2 separate regions of the Homo sapiens genome follow, and region 1 is linked to region 2. Evidence: promoter capture Hi-C in 16 types of primary human blood cells and fetal thymus (Javierre and others, 2016). All regions are on one chromosome and are shown on one strand. Each heading gives the region's core, a stretch centred on a gene start or on the middle of the fragment in contact. The rest is flanking DNA. Distances are from core to core; before and after follow the strand shown. Region 1 holds the start of EMC2 (ER membrane protein complex subunit 2). Region 2 holds the start of ASPH (aspartate beta-hydroxylase).

Evidence for each region. The method cuts DNA at HindIII sites, captures the fragments that hold promoters and counts their contacts. A CHiCAGO score of 5 or more calls a contact.
Region 1: a contact is called between the fragment with the promoter of EMC2 here and the fragment with the promoter of ASPH in region 2, in 1 of 17 cell types (non-activated CD4 T cells). The highest score is 10.1, in non-activated CD4 T cells.

The regions. Positions count from the first base shown.
Region 1 is chr8:108,442,035-108,445,459 of GRCh38, forward strand. EMC2 (ER membrane protein complex subunit 2) reads left to right here and starts at 1,590. Exons shown (of 11, transcript NM_014673.5): 1 at 1,590-1,664. The coding sequence starts at 1,625. It overlaps LOC105375704 (a long non-coding RNA gene), which reads right to left and starts at 1,438. Exons shown (of 3, transcript XR_928530.4): 1 at 1,336-1,438. RefSeq lists a silencer at 1,424-1,543. The HindIII fragment of the contact is 5,303 bases long and covers 1-2,017 here.
Region 2 is chr8:61,712,829-61,716,100 of GRCh38, forward strand. It overlaps ASPH (aspartate beta-hydroxylase), which reads right to left and starts at 1,764. Exons shown (of 25, transcript NM_004318.4): 1 at 1,441-1,764. The coding sequence starts at 1,543. MIR4470 (microRNA 4470) reads left to right here and starts at 1,960; the gene lies at 1,960-2,031. RefSeq lists silencers at 1,134-1,563, 1,604-1,973. The HindIII fragment of the contact is 6,840 bases long and covers 1-3,272 here.

The sequences.
Region 1 (3,425 bases), core at 340-2,839, about 47 Mb after region 2:
GTTGCTTTACTGGAGCATTAAAATATGTGAATTTCTGAGTATTTTTTAACTTTTTGAATGAAAGATTTTTAAAAAGTCTGTTTAGAAAGAATGCCAGCTCATTCAGAATTGAATCCAAGTATATACATTCACTAGTCTTCTCTGTTGTTAAGTGACTTCTCTGGGGTCTATGGTTTGATGGTTTTTTTCCTTTTTTTAAACAAACAAACAAAAAAACCTCTGCGGTTGACTGGAGCCGACAGGTGAGGAATGGAGAGATGTTGGTCAAATAGTACAAACTTTTGGTTGTAAGATGAATATGTTCTGGAGATCGAATGTACAGCATGGTGACTACAGTTATAATTCTGTATTGTATACTTTGAAGTTTGCTGAGAGATTTTTAAGTGTTCTCAACACACACACACACACACACACACAGGAAATATGTACGGTGATAGATGTGTTAATTAGCTTGCTTGTGGTAATCATTTCACAGTGTATATTTACATCTAATCATTACTTTGTATACCTTAAATATACACAATTTTTGTCCATTACACCTCAATAAAGCTGAGAAAAAAAACCCTCCACTCTTTTGACTTGTGGGATAGTATTATTTCTACTTCTCAAATCAACTGCCCCTTCTTTACTGACCAATAACTTTCGGCTGCATTGCAGTGATTTTTAGTTTTTTCTCAGCTTACATATTTCCTCTACAATCTCATGTCCCCATTGCTTCAAATACTAAATATACGCTTATCATCCTCAAATTTTTTACTTCCTGTCCAGACATTTCTCCTTAAGTCTAGGAGATGACGTCCAAAGTTTCCTAAAAGCAATTAGTCTGGTGGGAAAGGAGGCTCCCCCATCCACCCAGGAGTAATGAGGAGCGAAGTTCAGGAACTGTGAAGGTCTCATTCGTACATTCATTCCTTATAAGTACTTACATACTCGCGACAGTTTGAAACCTAGTGTGGCATGCAGACATGGATGAAGCAATGACAGGCACGACGAGCGTTAATGAAGGGTATAAGCTAGCGCGAGGGCATTCAAGGGAACTTCAGAGCGCAAAGGAAGAATCCCACTTAGTCTCTCAAAACTTTGGAGTTTATCCGTTTAGTCGATTAAAAAGTGAACGGAAAGCAAATCCCATTACGGAAGGAGGAAAGTTGGGGACAAATAAGGGATTCGTGCAGAAGGCTGCACTGCGGCCGGCCATGAAGAGAATAAGGGTACTTAAGGGAGTGTGAAGAGAATGAACAAGCCTAGGTAGAAAAAACTGAAAAGCCAGGATTGACGGACACTAAAAACCCAGCATTTGTTAAAAATCCACGTCAACACACACACACACCTCACCCCGAGCCAGCACCGTAGCCCCGCCAGCAGCCAGGGTATCCTGAGATTGCGGGAGCGCCACGCACCGCCCACCTAGCTCCGTCCACCGTCCAGCTCGCTCCGCCCAGCTCGCTCCGCCCCCTTCCCCGAAAGCCCCTCCGCAGAGCCGCGTGCACGTGCGTGGCGGATACCGCCCCCTCTGCTCTCTTGGCCAATGAGAAAAAGCTACGTAACTCTCCACCGCCCGGTGGCGGGTCACGTGACTGCGTCTCCCCGCCCTCTCACCCCGCTGCCTCTAGGTTCTGGGAAGATGGCGAAGGTCTCAGAGCTTTACGATGTCACTTGGGAAGGTAACTTCGGGTGGGGGCGGGTGCGGAAAGACTAAAAGCGCTGGGAAGCCGTTCGGGAGTACCCGCTGCTTTCGGGGAGCTGGGTTCTCTGGTGTCTTTTTGGTACCAGAGCCCTCACTGTACGGGCCAAGCTGAGGTGGAGGCTGAGGCTGACCCTTCCCTTGGCCCGGACGCGTACTCTGCAGCGTTTCCCACGGTGTCTGCTCCTCGGTTGACCTGCCCTCCTCCGCGCCAGTCCAGCGTCCCGGGGCCGCTTTTATTTATGAGGCGGGCGGGAGGGACTTGGGGCTGGGGTTGTCGCACGCTAACTGGTTGCTGGGCGGTGCGGAAGAGGCGGAATAGGTGGTTACTGAAGCTTCTTTGGAGCCAAGAAACACAGGGCCTGTAAGGCCCTTTACTAAGTGGTGTGTAAGGATTACAGCTCTGTGCAGAAAAGCTGTGTAAAAGATGCGTGAACAAATGTGATTCTCATATGCCACTCTACATTTAGTTTTCTTCTTAAACCCGGGTTTCCAGTTTCTTTTCCTTTTAGTCTAGTCTCTGTCCCACTCCTTCTCAAAACACATTTACACACACAACACAACTTCTTTCTTACTCCCTACTAGTAGTTTCTTTTCTGAAGGGAAAAATAACTAATTAACTCTGGGCTACGTAAGTGCTTACGTGTGATGGTCACTTTTCCCTATCCTTAGTTGATCTAGAGTGGGATATGTTCTTTAAATCTGGGAACAGCCAAACCTTGGATCAATTCTGTGTGCTTAAGAAACTTGAGTTTCATTAAGGCGTGGAATTTGTGTAATTGGAATTCATATTCCCAGCATTTAACATAATACAGGAGACTTCAGTAGCTAATTTGCTTAACGAATGCCTTCTTGGGATGTTTTAATAATGACCTGAAAACATGTGGACCGAAAGTTGTATTTTCTGTTTTATCGTGAATAAATATATCAGTTATTATAAAGTTGTAAATCCGTTACAAATAAAGCAAAATTTCTTTGTACTTGAACTGAATTAAATGATTTATTGACTTTATGGCCTCTAGCACGTTGTGAATCTCAGTATTTATACCTGAATTGAGGGATTCCATTATATTAAACAACAGTGTTGATTTCTTACTGCAAAATCTTGGCTCTGTCAACACACAGTCCCCACTTCCAAGGAAGTCACAATCTAATGGAGAAAACAAACCTGTAAACACACAGTTTTAAAAGGCTTGTGTCAGGGTATCTTCCGTAAGCTGAGTCGTAGATAAATGGATGTTATTTTTAATGCTTTTTAAAAAATGTTTTAAATATTACATAATTTTTAGAAAATGCTATTATGAAGGTATGTTCATTATAGGTTTCCTAGATGATAGTAGCATATATAAAATCCTGAGGGACGAGTAGCTGTATACTACCAACAGACAAGGTGATTTAACTGAGTAATTGGACCTTACCCTGTGGTCATTCTAAAGAGGATTGATGTAATTAATTTGGAATAATAAATAATAACTACTACACAAATTTGTAGGAACAAAGAAAACATTTTAAAGTGCTTTGTAAACTGTTAAGTACTATATAAAAGGATGTGTTACTATTAGCTAGTGCTAATATGATTATGTCCTTCCTCTGTATGATCTGGCGGTTGCCCATGTCTCCAGCTTTATCTTGAGCCCTTCTCCCTCTCACTTTGTGAGCTGCCTATGCTGGCCTTTGTTGAATACCCTAAATTGCCATGCTGCTTCTTAAAGCTGGCACATGCTAGTCCTTCCACTGGGAG
Region 2 (3,272 bases), core at 514-3,013:
ATGAAATGGAACGAAGACATGCTTCTCTGGCAAATAGCTACAGAAACCTTTTGAAAACAACTAACATTAAAGTTGTTCATCAGCTTTCTCTGCTTAGTGCCCTTAGAGGCACAATGAGAAGAACCCATTCTCATTTAGGGATGTTAAAAAAGAGTAGCCTCAGTCGGCTGAGGCAATTAATCTATCCCTCTGCAGGTTTAAGTAAGTGACATTTAAGAACAAGTGAAAAAGGAACACAAACTTTCACTTATGTCAAAGGTGAATTAATATGCTTGCATTGAACTTCAAACTGTGTCTACATCTTTACTTTTAGAATACAAATATTAGTCCTTAGAATGTAAATTTGTGCAATGGATTTAATGCACTACTTTCCCCATTTAAATCCATTCATTCATTCACTACTCAAATATTTATTGAGCACCTATTATGGGAAAGGAACATTCTAGGAGCTGGGGATACAGAGAGAATGAGCCAAAGACAACACACATGAAAGTAATAAGACAAGTTCAGATAGTGACAAGTGCTATAAAGAAAATACTTCTTTGACTATAGCTGATTCATTTTCTTGGTATATTATGAATGCATGATCTGAAGATCTCAGAAAACAAAGAGTCTAAATCACTTCAAGTGAAGTTTACAGCTCACATTCCATACACATGTGTATTGCAGTTTCAATATCCCAAATATGAGTCAAAGGAAGTATAAAAGAAACCAAGAATCACTGAAATATGAGACGAAACAGATTTAAAAATCTGTTCTCTCTGCTGGATATGCACACGGACGAGGAGAAAGGTGAATATCCAATCGATTTTTATTTTAAGTAAAAGTGGTAAAAATACAGACGCTCGTTCAGTATTTCATGACATTCTATTTTAAAGGCAACTGCAACGCATATTAAGAAAGCTACATACAAGCAAAAATATTTAAAATAATTTCTGAGAGCATTCAAATCACTCCCAACTTCTTCCCTCCCCCTGCCCCCCGGCGCCCCCATTTTCACCTCCTTTGAGTTGCTCTGAAACGCTGCTGGTTAGGCAGGAACTCACTTTCCCTGACTTTGGCTCATTTTCAACTCCCCAAAACACGCAAGGCAAACGATAAATTGTTCTCTTACTCCCATGTTCAATTCCACGGAAAGCCAAGAAACAGTCGTTCAGCAACCTCTGTCTCGGCTGCGCCCTGCAGGTGAAGGAACCGCTGGGAAGGGGCTCCCCGAGACTAGCATCCCGAGGGCTCGGACCCCGGTCCGCCTGGCCCCTCGCCCGCCCGCCAGGCCCGCCGAATGCGGCCTCCGCCCCGCGCGCCTAAAGGAGGAGCGTCGCGGGGGATGGAGGCGGCGCGCGGTGGGACCTGGGGAGATGCACCCGCAGCGTCCGCCGCGCCAGCCGGCTCCCTACCCCGAGGCGAGGCCCCAGATCCCCGCCCCGCAGGGCCTCTGACCTCTCCGGGCCCCGGGGCTGCTGCTGCCCGCACTCGTGCTACCGCTGCCGGAGCCGCTGCTGCTGCTGTTGCCGCTGCTCTTGGCATTCTTACGCTGGGCCATTGCACGGTCCGCGGGGGCTGGTGAGGGCTGGCGGACCTCCTTCAGTGCGCGGGGGTACACACGCGACGCGGGAACCGCTGGCGGCGGCGGGCCGCTGGAGCGGGTTCGGGCCGCTGCTCCTGCAGCAGACCCTGTGCCTCAGCACCGCCTGCAGCACCTGGGAAGACTTCACCCGCCTGCCGGCTGCGCGCGCCCGGCCTCGCGTGTACGAACCTGTGACTCCCTCCCGGGGCGAGAGCGCGCGGCTCGCCGCCCGACGGCCACGCCCCTTCCCGGCCTCGCCCCGCCCCCGGAAGGCTGAGTGACGGCGCCTGGGACCCAATCGCAAGGGCCCTTACGAGGCGGCGGTACCCTGCCGCGCTCCCCGCCCCTGCTCACTTAGGGCTGTTCGGGCGCTACGCAGCTGCCTGTGAGCGCGAGCCTCTTTCGGCTTTCCAGTTTGTCTCGGTCCTTTGGAACGTGGCAAACGTGGAAGCCGAGAGGGCTCTCGCGAGCGTTGGCAGACCCCGCTCCATAGGGATGGGACAGGGCGCGGTGCGGAATAGGTGGACACGTGGGCCGCCCGTGGGCGGAGTGCGCCGCTTCTAGGCCTTTCACTGTGGATTTTGTCCCCTTTCCGTATACAAGGAAAGGAAGGAGTGCAGTCTCGCTTCTTGCGAAAGAGATCCCTATTTCTTGTCCTGATTAATACTAAGACATTTCTGGAATGGTGATATTAGGACTAGTTCAATGCTTAAACCGTAGTAGTTCATCCATTTGGTGCTGAAGCAGGAATTTAGTTCGTTTGTGCCATCAGTATTTTCAGATACTCTTAGTTAAGGAATGAAAATGCAAATGTGACACAAAAAGTTCATTTTCTTACCCTGGATGGCACCCTCTGTCTGAAATCCCTGGCTGCTTTGCTAACGCCTGGGCCTGTGCTGCCTGAGAATTCCCAACAGAGTATTAAAATGTCTTGGCACGTGGTTGAACCAGACAAGGACTTGAGATCAGCGACGTCTTTATCATCTTTGTGTCACCATTGCTAACACCATGCCCAATGTGTAACAGGCAAGCAAGAAATGCTTAGTGATTTGATACATTTCTGTCAATTGCTGAACCCACAGCTCTTGATCATGTTTCGTAGCAACCCCTGGGAGTGTCTCAGGAGGGCTCAGGGACCAGAGAGAGCAGTTGCATTGTGGCATCTGGTTTCATTCCTCTTTTCCAGCCCCACAAACCCACCCACCCGCGCCTTCAGAAGCACTCCCGCCTCCCCCCGGCCCCATGCCTTTTCACCTGTGGATGGTTGGATGCTGCTTGACCCTGCCCTGATGATGCACAGAAACCCCCCAAAGGTCATGTTGCAGAATAAAGAGAATGCCTTTCTTTACCTTTTGTCAAATAGTGTTAGGCTATTATCAAGAGACGGTGGGAGGGGAGAGTTCACAGAGTTTTTATTGAAGTAGCTCTCTCAGCTTTTATCTTGTGGCATCTCCTTCTGCATCCATATATCCTTTCTCCCATTCAGGGCCCCCTTACAACCCTCTATTATATTATCTCAATGAAGGAGGTGGAGAACTGGATTAAGAAATAAATCTGAGTGATGGTGCTTCATATAAAATAAAAATGAGAGCTAAATTTCAAAACACAATGCTCTAGCCACCCCCCACCCCCCACACCAAAGATATTTTTACCCTTAAATTCTCACAAAACCCTGTAGTCATATCAATTTTTTAAAGAAATTAGA